Linked DNA regions of Homo sapiens: region 1 is linked to region 2. The links are contacts of gene promoters, found by promoter capture Hi-C in human tissues and cell types (Jung and others, 2019). All regions are on one chromosome and are shown on one strand. Each heading gives the region's core, a stretch centred on a gene start or on the middle of the fragment in contact. The rest is flanking DNA. Distances are from core to core; before and after follow the strand shown. Region 1 has its middle 180 kb from the start of LINC03084. Region 2 holds the start of ZFPM2 (zinc finger protein, FOG family member 2).

Region 1 (6,658 bases), core at 3,524-6,023, 310 kb after region 2:
TGACTTCCCTGGACTCCTTATCATCCATTTCCTCAGGCAAGGAAACACAAATACCAGCAGCAGAAAAACTGAGAATTCCTCAATTAAGACCAACTTACATCAAAATCAAAATAAACTCCAAACACTGAAAAGGAAAAGAATGATATAATTGAGTACCAAGTTCTGATTCTTATAATTTTTTACCTGATTAACGTTCACATTATATAAATTTAGACATGTTTTCCGTGGTCATTGTAATATATGCCATGCACATGAGAAAACTCTTTGCTTTCTTTTTGTTACGCTAGCTAGGAAATTGCCTATCTTCTCTTATGATTCAGGACTTGTAATTATTTAAAGAATCTAAATGCTTAGTTTATAATGTGTTATATTACTCTGTGTAATAAGGTTTATATCGTTTTAGCAAAGGAAAGATCTTGAATCAATGGGCTTGTAATCTGGGCTGATACTAGAGGAGCAATACATGAGAGGTACTCACCTAGAGACCACTCCCACTCTCTTTCATGTCAGAATACCAACTTCTGTGTGTAGTTTTGACTATGATTTATAATCTTTGAATTTTATGTTTCTAGAAGTCTTTTTAAACTACATATTTATAGTCTTTTTATTTATCTTTTCTCCCACTTGTTCTACAACTATTTAGCTTATTCAAAGTCCCATGTTTGTTTCCTTATTCTTTTTCCAAAAGGAACAATTACATATTCATAATTTAGAAACAAATACATCCATATATAAACCGTATTCTCATTATTAAAAACTATAAAAATCGGCTGGGTGCGGTGGCTCACGCCTATAATCCCAGCACTTTGGGAGGCTGAGGCGGGCCGATCATGAGGTCAGGAGATCCAGACCATCCCGGCTGACGTGGTGAAAGCCTGTCCCTACTAAAAATGCAAAAAATTGTCTGGGTGTGGTGGTGGGCACCTGTACTCCCAGCTACTTGGAAGGCTGAGGCAGGAGAATGGCGTGAACCTGGGAGGCGGAGCTTTCACTGAGCTGAGATCATGCCACTGTACTCCAGCCTGGGCAACAGAGTGAGACTCTGTCTCAAAAAAAAAAAAAAAAAAAAAACTATAAAAATCAAATATATACTATTATATCCCTATTTGAATTACAACCATCTAACATTTTACACTTTATATTCTGTCTTGTATGAGTATCATTAAGGATCTGTGACCTTTCACAGACTCAGTTTGTTCCAACTGACCCTAACAATAACCCCAATAACAAGAATATCAGTAATTACATTTAATATTATTATATATTCAGATTTTTTACAACTGACTAGCAGGAATTAATTTGTTAGCAACTTTTTCAGCATTACCCTGACGTTTACAAACTATTCTTGCTTCCATGCATTTAACTCCTTTTTGAAACCCCATTTAAATGATGACAAAGTTATCAGAAGGGTAAAATCCTCAAGGAGAAAGGAATCAGAAAAATGATGAGAAATGTCTACAAAATGTTTGAAGCTGGGAAACAAACTCGCTTTCTCTTAGAAGTTAAGTCTGCATTTGTGGAGAAGCAAAGTGGAGGGTGGGGAGTCAAGAAATAATCCAGTTTATGCCTTTGAGCTCTGAAAAACACAGGACTTAGAGACATATATTTCAGGAAGATGTAGGTGGGACTGACAGAAAGATTAGTTGAAAATTTGCATTTGAAGAAATTAGAGTGCTAGATACCCTCATCCACCCAACAGAGCAGGGTCACTATCAGACCAGTCAGAGGCAAATGCCTGAAGACTCACTCTCTTAAACCAGAGGGAGCTTGGGCAGAAACACTAGAGCTGAGGGAGTGGTCATGAAAACAAGATGGCTAAGTGAGCATTTACATCCTGATGTGTGAGAACTCCAGCCTCTCCTCCCTTTGGCCCTGGACCAGCAGACTTGCTTATATTCATCAGGCAGACCCTTAGTGGGTGCATTTTTGAGAAAAGCAACCTGCCCAAGAGCATAGACCTAACAATAACTGTCTTGTCACTTTACAATGAGCTCACTTTATGAGGAACCCAACATCCCCATTTCTGGTTAGCTCCTTTGTGCTTCACACTTTAACATGACCAGGCACTGACGGATCTCTAAACCTTCGAGACAGAAACAAAGCAAATACATAAGGAAAAAGAAAAATGGAGGAAACAAAGACAAAAGAAGCAGAAAAAACTTCTAAAGAAATAATTTAATAGTCTCAAAGAAAAGGGAAGATATTGCATTCTTGAAATGAGAATAGGAAGTCTGAAAAAAAGAAACACTCAAATTCTGAAAGAGGTCTTGGAAAAAAATTTTAATGGTGTCAGAAATAAAAAGGTTAATAGAAGGATTGGGCAATAAAAATATAAAGTTGGGGCCGGGCGCAGTGGCACACGCTTGTAATCCCAGCACTTTTGGGAGGCCAAGGCGGGCAGATTACAAGGTCCGGAGTTCGAGACCAGCCTGGCCAACATGGCGAAACCCCATCTCTACTAAAGATACAAAAAATTAGTTGGTGTGGTGGTGCACACCTGTAATCCCAGCTACTCAGGAGGCTGGGGCAGGAGAATTGCTTGAATCTGGGAGGCGGAGGTTGCAGTGAGCCGAGATCATGCCACTGCACTCCAGCCTGGGCAATAGAGTGAGACTCCCTCTCTCAGAAAAATAAAAAATAAATAAATAAAGTTGGAGAAATCTCCCAGAAAGCAAAGCAAAAATCCCAAGAGATTAAAAAAGAAAAGATGTTTAAATGAGTATGTGAATACTAAGAGTTCAGAAAGAAAGAACAGAGAAACAGGAAGGAGAAAATTGTCAAAGACTAGAGACAAAAAAAATTCCCATAACTGAAGGGTATGAGTCTTCAAAATGAAAAGCCCTACTGAGTGCCTATCACAATGAATATGAGAACAAACACACACATACACAGACTTCGAGCAACATTATCATGGAATTTCAAGACACTAAGGATAAGGAGATCTTAAAAGTTTCTAGTGATAAGAACTTAACATTTGTTTCTAGTGAGAAAAAAATCATACAAAATGTGTTAAAAATTAGAATGACATCAGACATTTTAACAGCAACACTGGCAACTAGAGGACAATGCAAAAATAACCCTCATAATTCTGAGGAAAAGCAATTTGATTACAGAATTCTCTTTCCAATCATATTCCCAATCAAGTATGAGGGTAGAAATAAAGACTTTTACACTTAATAAAGATCTAAAATATGTATTGCCTCCCACTGGCATCCTTTTTCAGGAAGCTACTGAAGGATGTGCTCCACAGAAACAAGGAAGGAAAGAAACAAAATGTCACATGAGAAATGTACACATAGTATACTATATGACTTGGCTGTGAAATGTATATCTAGATATCTGTATCCACATATCATAAAAACACTGAATATTTTATTAACAAAAATTTTGATATATCTGTCATCAGAAGAAGGGGGTAAAAGAAGTGTGAATGGAGTGCTAAAAACAGAACTAAATCCTAAGCTCCTCTAGCAGGAACTCTAAAACAATGTCTACAACTAAAAAAACAAAGAAATAACCATAGTAATGTATTATTCAAAAATGTGGAGGAAATTCTAAAAACAAGAGGGAAAAGGTTAAAATTGGTGCATCTTAGGATAGGAATCAGAGTTGAGAGGAGTGGCCAAGGTGACTGCTAATTTTTATTAAAAGTCCTGCAGAAAAATGTACTACTTATTACCAATTTAAAAAATAGTAAGATGATAAGAAAAAGAGCTTCTTTAACCTTATAAATGGTTTTTTTTACTAAAGATATTTTAAGCATTTAGACATATTCTTATTAAAGTTATTTACTATCTCTCTTTCCTTAACATTGTACTGGACTTTTCAGTCAATCTCATAAAATAAGAAAAAGAAATAAATATTATAGAGATTGGTAAGGAAGTAATACTCCTTTATTATTTTTAGATAGCAGAATTGTGTAGAAATGCAATAGAAATTCTAATTAATTAATGAGAATAATTAAGATAGTTCATTGAGATTTTTGGATAAAATATTAGTATACTGAGAATTTGTCTGTTGTAGGGCCTCAACATTTGCTATTTCCTCTGCTAGGAAGGATTTTCCCTCAAGATACTGAGTAACTTTCTTCCTCATCATATTCATGTTTCTGCTCAGAGATGCCTTTCCTGAATCTTATTGCTCCAAGTCATGTTCTTTCCTAGTATACTATCATTTTTTGGAGCATTTGTGAGTACTCACTAATAAGAGACATCTTACCCCATTGGACTGGAAGCTCCTAGAGAGCAAGACCAACTGTCTTGCTTACTACTGTATCCTCAACAATTACTATAGTGCTTGGCACAGAGCTAAGGCTAAATTAATACTTGCCATTAATGGCAAGGATTAATGATGAGCATGCAGCAGTGGAAGCAGCATTAACTACTTAGAAAATATAATAGAACAAAAAATAACATTGATTATAGAGAATAAATACTGTAAACCAATAATACATTTCGTAACAGGTGTTCAAAGTCTTTATAGAGAAATTTAAAAAAAAATTCCAGAAAGACTTAATTGAATTTCTCATTAAATGAAGGGATGTGGCATGTTTATTTGTCATGTACAGGAAGATTCAGTTTTATAAGGACAAATGATCTTAACATCAATATATAAATTCCATAAAATTCCAGTGTAAATCCTGTTGGAATCTTTTATGGAACATGACAAAGTGATTCTAAAATTGATTTGGAAAGCATAAAGGACTAAAACAGGTAAGATATTCTCTAAGGAAAAGTGGGGTAAAAACTCGCATAGCAGGATAAGAAACATGTATTGAAGGCAGAATATTAAAACAGTGCAGTACTGGTGGAAATATATGAATGGAATAGTAGAATAGAGAGGTGGAAAATGGAACCAAGCTCATAAGAGATTATCTTCTTCAAATCTGTGCAGAAAGAGTGGATTTTCTCCATATATGGCATTGAGAAAAATGGCTTTCCAAAAATAAAAGTAGAAAGTCTCACACAGTGTCTTAGCTTGGCAGACCCTGAGATGAAGACTTGGGTGCAAGCAGTTTACTTGGAGGCAATCTTTGGTGGCTCAAGTGAGGAAGCGGGAGAAAGTGAGAAGAGTAAAGTTAACAAAAGGTGTGTTAATGAACAGATTGCTGTTAATGAAAATTGGAGCTTAATCCTCACTGTGAATTTGGAGAAAACATGTGGCATATACTCCTTAAGATTGTCCCCCAGAAGATGGGAAACTAACATTTATCTATGGATTCCATTTTTTTTCCCTCCTCAGTTTTATTTGTACAAATAGCATAGGAGGACACCAGCCCTATGCAGACGGCAGCCCAAGGGGGTCACACCAGTCCTTCTGTCCTCACGTTGGCAGACAGAGATCTCTACTCTGAAGCTTTTATAGGGGACTGGGCACCTTTGGGAGCCTGAGCTGGAACTGTAGCTGGAGCTGCAGCCTGGGCCTTGGTTTGATCCTTGGCCTTTGGCTGGCACAGACTGAGCCCCTTGGCAATGTGGGCATAAGCATGCTTCCCAAGCTTGGGGTGGGCAATATAGGCAAGTCAATCGAACTTGCAGCTGACACTCTTTGGGATCTTGGGCTTAACCTCCTTGGGCTTTACAAGGGCCTTGATAGCCTTGGCAAGTGCACTCATGGCCTTGGCATTGTTGGCCTGCATCTTCTTTAGGCCCTTCTTGGTGTGCTTCTTGGCAAAGCACATGATTCTCAGGAACTTGGGGTCCACCTCCTTAAGAGATTCGTATCTTTGTGGTCAGGGTTTCTTGATGCCATTTCTGGGCCATTTTCGAGACTGATTGTGTGTGGTGTGATTCTTGGACTTGGCCATGTCTGCACCTTAAGCCGTGGCTCCTGAAATGCCTAGAACCACTATAGATCTCATTTTTGAAGGTTGCCCCAGGGCATCAACTCCCCCAACACCTGTCCAGGATCTTGATACCTGTCTTGTGTCAGAGAAGCCTCCCATGCACAGAAGAGAGATGCAAATACTTTTAAGGGGATAGTCAGCTTGCAGAAATTCTCTTAAGCTGCAGGAGAGCTTAGGTAGGTGTAGACAATGTCAGCAGCATCTGCGACACACACTATAAACAAATAAAACAAAAATGAAGTCTAAATGTATAAAAAGATCTTAATGTGAAAAATATAACTAAAACTATTAGGAGAAAATATTGAGCACGGTGCAGTGGCTCATATCTGTAATTCTAGCACTTTGGGAGGCCAAGGCAGGAGACTTGCTTGAGGCCAGGAGTTTGAGACCAGCCTGGGCAATGTAGCAAGACCCTGTCTCTACAAAAACAAAAATTAGCCTGACGTGGTGGAAGCATGCCTATAGTCCCAGCTACTGGGAATACATGATATTAATCAATTCAGATCTCAAATGCATAAGATCTCATTAAAAAAAGCAAACAGCACAGTATTATGTGTGGTATAATACAAATTATGTAAATTTAAAAATACGTACAAAACAAAAATATTGTTGATGAATATATCTGTAGTGTTTTATTAATATTTTCTAAAGATGTGCTGAATCAAAGATGACTAAATGTCAATATTTTTTCATTTTGGAATGGCATGTACATAGGTGTTATAAAGTATCCTTTACATCTGTTTTGGGTGAACAGAGTTTGGTTTAGGATCTCTTCTCTTTTTTGAGGGTAGGATTGCCTTCCAAGTTTAAAGT
Region 2 (6,795 bases), core at 2,525-5,024:
ATTGGCATATTGGCAGGAGGTGATAAGGCTAAAAACAACAACAGCGAGCAGCTGTGCGGGGAGATGGGCTGATAGCATGATATGGCTCCCACACCAAACACCTCCCGTCCTATCAGGGCTTTTTATCAAACCAGGATTACAATAATAGCTTATGAGAGAAAGCTTCTGAGGGGAGGGCAGAAAATATAGTCTTGGAATAGGAAAAAAAAATCTGAATTTTGGGACAAAACATGGGGGCAAAATACATAATTTATCACTGTATTATCAGGAAATCCAGGCAGTCTAATCAAGGAGCACTGAGTGACTATTTTTTGCCTTATCATCCAAAGTGGTGGAAACGGAGAAGGAATTATCAGGCTTCTGCAGATTGCTGGGCTGGAATTTTAATGGTAATAATCGGGTTTCTGATGGTATATCTTCTCCGCTTATCTTTCCCATTATCTCCTCTTATCTGGCCAGTCATCATAGCAAATTAATGGTGCTCTTTCAGCGTCGCCTTTTTATCGCTGCCCGGAGAGCACCCAAGGGGAAAGAATAAGCAAAATATTAAAATACTGCATAAATCACAATTTTAGATAGCAGGGAACTGTATGCAGTAAAAGAAAAAAAAAACTGTGCCCAACAACCTTTTTGTCCTTTAAATTGACTGTCTTCAGAGTTTCTGGTATAAGCTGACTTTTTGCTTGTCATAGTTGCTTCAAATTGGGTATGTTTTATCAGCAGTGCCAAAGCTTTATTTTCTAATCCTGGACATTTCCAAGTTTAAAATGCAGTTTTATTACTGGCGTGAAATGCTATTGTTTCACAGAGCATAGCTTTCTGAGATTCTCCAAACTTATATTTGATCCAGAACATCAAAAGTAACAGTGTTGTTTGTAATAGAAAATGGTGCACTTCTTACGCACTACTAAAACTGGGGGGAGAGACCTACAATAATAACGACTTTGGATATCAACACAAACTTCTCCATCTGCGAAACTGCCTCTTATGCCTGAACAGGCAAAAGGAGACAAACGTCAATAGATTGCAACTAAAATGACTTTAAAGCTGGTCAAACGACATTTAAGTATCTCCCCCACCCCCTAAAAAAGCTAAAAGAAGAGGACTACTCCAGTATAGAAATTCAAAGACCTTTAATTTTTCACTTTTCTTAACGGTGGAATGGAAGAAGGGGTGTCCACATTTGCACAGATTATCACTGTGACCCCAAATTGAATCCAATAAAAGTATTACATGCATATAAATAATACATATGTATGCATATATCAGCAGGCAATGCTCACTGTGAATAAATATATAAATATATTTGTTCACTTTCAAATGAAATAACTTTCAAGCATTTTTGATACTTAATAAATCACAGCATTCAAATAAACCACTAAAATGTTTTATGACTTGTAACACAAGAGTAGCATCAGCAATTAGTTTCAATGCTTTAATCTTCAATTATATGAGGTGGACATAGAAGGAAATAAAAAAATTAATGTAGCTAATTGAGAAGATAACAAAGTATTCCCAAGTAAAATCAGATGGTCTTGTGCCATACAATCAATTAATATTAATTATTTATTAACAAACCCAGGTGACAGCCATGAACTAAAAAGCATTTGTATCTAATAATGTTTATAATCATATCTTATAATAAGCACGGTTTTGTATTCTAAGATGCAACATTTAAACAGAGGAATCTGATCAATTGAGTCCTAAAAACTACAAGGCAATTGGTGGAAACCATGAATAATCATTCTGAAAAAGTGAGTCTTCAAAAACGATATCGCTACTTGATTAAAACTGCTTTGAGCCAAAAGTGAAGTCCAGTACTTGCTTTAACCCAAGTTGCATAGAGTGAGAACTGAAGTATAAGAGAAGGAATCGAAGAAATAAAAGCTAGAAAGTCATGTTTAAGTAGCAGACACACACACACACACACACACACACACACACACACACACACAAAGATCTGAATACTTAACTGTTGATAACTGTTTATAACCTGGCCCCCATTTCAAGGACAAGTTGATTGATAAGATTTATTTTTAAACTACACCAAATAGAATTTTCAACATTTGGGGGTGGGGCGAGTATGGTTAATAATCAGGGGGGAAAGGGATACTACTAAAGTCTTATCCTTAAATTACATCATAATTTGTTTAAAACTAATTGCAGACTCTGAGCAACACGGTGAAACAGACACATCATAAAGCTAGCAAAAAATAAACTAATAAGGTTTTTTCTTCTTTTCGGCCAAAGCGTTGAAGATATGTCGCAGGCCTATAAAACGCTATTGGAGGAATTCTCCCCAAGCCAAGAAAAGTTGACCGACTTGATCTCTGCGAGCGTGCCTGTTTCGGAAGGTGTCTCTTGACCCGCCGTGTCCTCTAAGCACCATCGGGACCCCCGGGCACCCGGGGGCTCAGGGCCATGCACTCCCCTGCGCGCCCACCGCCTTGAACTCACAGCTTCCGCGCTGGGAAGTGACTGGCGGCCCCTCCCAGGGAGGACTCCGCGCGCCACCAGGGCCAGACACCACCCGAATCCCCGCTCGGCTGAGCGTCCTGGCGGCGTGAGCCGGACCCGCCCGAAGTCCCAGGACACGACCTGCCAGCCACCAGCCCGCGCCCGCAGGGCAGAGACGCACGGCCGCCCGCCGCAGAGGCGCGAACTTTTACACCTACTTTTTGTTTCGCTTCGGGTTTGGTGTGGCTCTGGCACCGCCCAGGATCGGGACCCTGACGCTCTGATTTTCCACCGCGTGGGGAAGTTACCTCCCTCGCCCCGAGGTCTCGACCGCCCAGCTTTTCTGAGAAGTTTCTACCCTGGTTACTAAAAGTGGTTCCCAAGAGTAGTCCCACGTCAATCGCACAAAGCAATGACAACAACAATAATAAGCGTCTAAAGGAGCGGGACTGCCCCTCCGGCTGGACGACAGCGCCGGGGACTCGCAGCGTGCGCGGGTCGGAATTAAAAAAGCAGCCCGGGAGCGCGAGGGCTGAGCGGGGCAAGCATGGGCTGCTCCTCGCAGCCTCTCTCCTGCCCGAGGCTCGGGCTGGCCGTCTGTCTGTCTATGACTGTCTAGTTGTCCCTTCGACTGCTCAGGCAAAGTTTGAGACATCTAGGGGACCGGGAGCGGATCTCCCCTAGCCCCGCCACCCACCCACCGCTTTCCCGTCCCGCGCACCCCGCTCCTGGGCAATAATCCCACCAACTCCCGGCCCCGCGCGCAAACTTACGTTTGATCTGCCGGGGTTTGCTTTGCTTTCGCCGGGACATCTCGGCGGCGGCTGCTGCCGCTGGGGCTCCCGCGGTGCCCGCGGTCGCGGCTGCCGCTCCCTCGGCTCCCGCCGCCGCCGCCGCCGCCGCCGCCGCTGGCCAGGCTCGGCCCGCCGCCGGCCGGACTCCAGGTGCTCCGGGCGCTGGGCTCCTCCGGGAGCCGCGGATTCACGTTCGGAGATGAGCAAGCAAATGAGAGAAGAGAGACGGGGGCACAGAGAGTGTGACAGTGAGGAGGGGAGGGGGAGAGGAGAGCGACGGGGGGAGAATGGGAATGTACAAGCGAACGGTCAGGGAGAGAGAAAAGGGGAAAGAGAAGAGAAAAATAACACGGAAAGAAGGAAGAGAAGGAGGGAGGGACGGGAGAGCGAGCAGCGAGGAGAGGGGGAGCGCGGGGGCGCAGGGCGCGGGAGGAGGAGCGCGCTCGCTCGCCCCTCGCCCCGGCGTGCGGGACGGATACTCCGGCGCCGCCGCCGCCGCTCCGGGCCGCGCAGCTCCTGTTCTGCGGCGGGAGGCGGCGAGGCGCGCGAGGGAGGGGCGCGCCGGGGCTGTGGGGAGGGGAGACTATTCCATCAGCCAAAGGAGGATTGGCTGCATCCAAATCCAGTCCGGATGCAAACTACGGCCCCGGCCTTGGTCGGGCGAAGTGCGGGGGATCCAGGCGGTGGTGGGGGATGGGGGCAGGGGTGGGTGGGAGTTGGAGGGGAGGCGTGGGGACGGCTTGGAGGAGGGCCACCTTCTGCAGTTGTCACCGCGTCAACGCTGGGCAGCTGCCAGGGCACCCCGCCCCACCTCCTTCCAGGCAACTTCTTCCAACGGCCCTCTCTGAGGGACCCCAACTCTCCTCTCTCACGCCTCGCCAGTCCAGCGGGGCACAAAGAAATCTCAGTCTCTCCCTAAACTTTGTGCTTTCAGTTATGCCGCCCCCTCCCCTCACCCCCAACCCCCGCCCTCCCAGCTTCTTGGCAGGAAGGTTAGGCCACTGGCAAAGTCCTCGGCGAGAGCCAGATGATCACAAATGCCAACTGTGTGTCTTGGGGCCAGTTAAGTCCGCTCATCTGCCCAGGCTCTCAGAAGACCATTTCTTTGCTCTCAAGGCTCCCAGGAGACCGCTGCGGACACGGACCGTCCCGCTCTGGGCCCACGTGGATGAGGTGCTGAGTCGGATCCTCAACGTGTTCTGTCACCCACAGTTTCCATTTTAAATTGTAAAATATTCAAATTTGGAGACAAGCAGATATTTTTCTCATCTTGAAAAGGAGGAGCGAGCGTTAGCTAGCTGATTAGCCGTAAGTGGAAAACGAACCATCTCTAATAAAAATACTAACTTTTTGGGAAAGTCTGGGGAAGTTCTGTAGTCCCACCCTGCCCCGTGACCTTTCTATTCTCTTAGTCTTCTGCCACAGGGAAGCACCGATCGACTAATAAAAGATTTGATCTTGCTGTAATTTCCCAAGCGGGTAAGACCCAGTAACTATTTAATGGTTCTTTAGCTTCTAAAATTTTGTTTTATTCTTATTCAATTACTGTATGTGTAGTATATCGGCAACTGCAAGCCAAAAGGAGAACAAATTTTGAGGTGATTTGCATAGTTATTATTTTGGCCAAGTTAAACTGTATGAGGTTAGCTTATTTTCTTACAGTTTCATATACGGTAAGTATTAAATATATTCTCCCATGTGGGTTGGAAGGAGCTTCTATCCAAGTGCAGTGGGACTAGCTGCTTTATGTAATCAGTATTTACTAATAAACTCCACTGCAGTTCACATGAGTCCCCCAGATACTGCTGACTTTTCCCCCAGGAGGTTGTGAAGTGGACCATTCTGATCTCAAATTGTGTCCCCGTTTGCTTGGTTGACTATTATTTGTGTGAACCACACCAAACTGGATACTCTAAAAGGGTCTGGGGTCAGCACAGAGCCTGGGCTGATTGAGCATAATGCAAGATGCTCAGTGTGTAAGAGGCACTGTAATCAGTGTCATTTATAACCCCAACAGGACATCTTCTGGAAGGTGTAAAGAGTTGCCTTGTGAAAGGTATGGCCAAGAGAATCTTAATACAAAGCTGAAGACAAATTGTGAATTTTATTACATTACCATTAGTACTATTACCATAGGAGGCTGTAAGAATACATAGTCCTCTGCAGTGGAAAATGCACTAAATGACAAAGTCCCTCCTGTGAAGAACCAACAAATTAAGGCTGAAAGTACCATGAAAAGCAGGGCCATTTATGTTTGTGTTGTGGAATAAATAAGCAGAGAGAGAACTGCAGATTTTTACCTCCTTCATTTTCAATTCATTACAGTTAAATTGGTGTGCTTAGAATCAGATGTATTGTACATTATGGTTTTTAAAGATCTTTTTACAGAACTGGCTGAATTTTTATGTCACCCAAAAGGAATGCCCATTGGAATTAAAATATCGTAACTGTTTCTTTTGGAGTTTGAAGTGGTTAAATATGCAATGCAAAAGAAAAACAAATAAATCTCAGCTAAATGTTTAGTTTAAAAGCTAAAAGGAGCAGAAGTCAGAGAATTCAAGGCAAGATTGATAACCAGAATGCATTATTAGAGATAGATATTAGTTTATCTAAATTTATAAATATATATTAATATAGTCAATATGAATGAATTAAAATAATGAATACTATTACATTTTATATTTTTTCATTATTTTTAATGAGAATATTAATGATATTTAAGGTTCAGTTTTTCTTTTTTTCTAGTTTAATTCACTGAGGTTATAAAATAAATAGACGGAAAAACCTATAAGCAATTATCTCTGTCCAAATGGATATAGCAGCCCCAAACCACAGCTACATGACTATCAAACAATGATTATGAAAACCACAATTGAGAAAAGCATCAGGGAATGATATTGCAAAACCACAGCAACAAATGTGTCTGTGATACTGAAAACCACAATTCACAACTAATACCCTCTGTATCGCAAATTACAATTTAACTATAAATGTGCAAATGTACAAATAAAAGCACAAAATAATTTCTCATTTGCTTAAAAATAAATTATTGATTTCTAGGCTCACCGATTTAATGTCTACATAATGGTTTGTTTAGAAAAGTTTCTGCTTTAAGAAACAAATCATTTTAAATTACATGTAAAATGCCAGTTACTTTAAAAACTGGAAAAATGCAACTTGTAATAATATTTTCTAAAATGTTAAAAAAAAAAAAGATCTGAACTCAATCTGAAACAAACATCTACTTCAGTCTAGCTTTTTTCATAAAGTTCTTTGGAAGTGAAAAGGTATGTGAATGGAAACTGTTTACAGAATAAAAGCTCAAAGTATTGTATTACAACTTCAATGAGAATAAAATTGTATATACAGTAGTACCCTTCTATACCCAGAGCTTATATTCCAAAGCCCTCAGTAAATGCCTGAAACTACGGATAGTACCAAACCCTATATATACTGCTTTTTCCTATACAAAATACCTATGATCAAGTTTAATTTCTATAGTAGGCACAGTAAGAGATAAACAACAACTAAAAATAGAACAATC

The links. Contacts are between HindIII fragments. The study calls those that stand out against the background at their distance.
Region 1: a contact is called between a fragment that was not itself captured here and the fragment with the promoter of ZFPM2 in region 2, in 2 of the 25 tissues and cell types used here (H1 embryonic stem cells and IMR-90 fibroblasts).

What each region holds. Positions count from the first base shown.
Region 1 is chr8:105,010,255-105,016,912 of GRCh38, reverse strand. It overlaps the pseudogene RPL29P18. Among named protein-coding and RNA genes, the nearest start is that of LINC03084, 180 kb to the left of the region's middle. The HindIII fragment of the contact is 6,178 bases long and covers 1,685-6,658 here.
Region 2 is chr8:105,315,417-105,322,211 of GRCh38, reverse strand. ZFPM2 (zinc finger protein, FOG family member 2) reads right to left here and starts at 3,774. Exons shown (of 8, transcript NM_012082.4): 1 at 3,231-3,774. The coding sequence starts at 3,270. RefSeq lists an enhancer at 1-910. The HindIII fragment of the contact is 7,749 bases long and covers 448-6,795 here.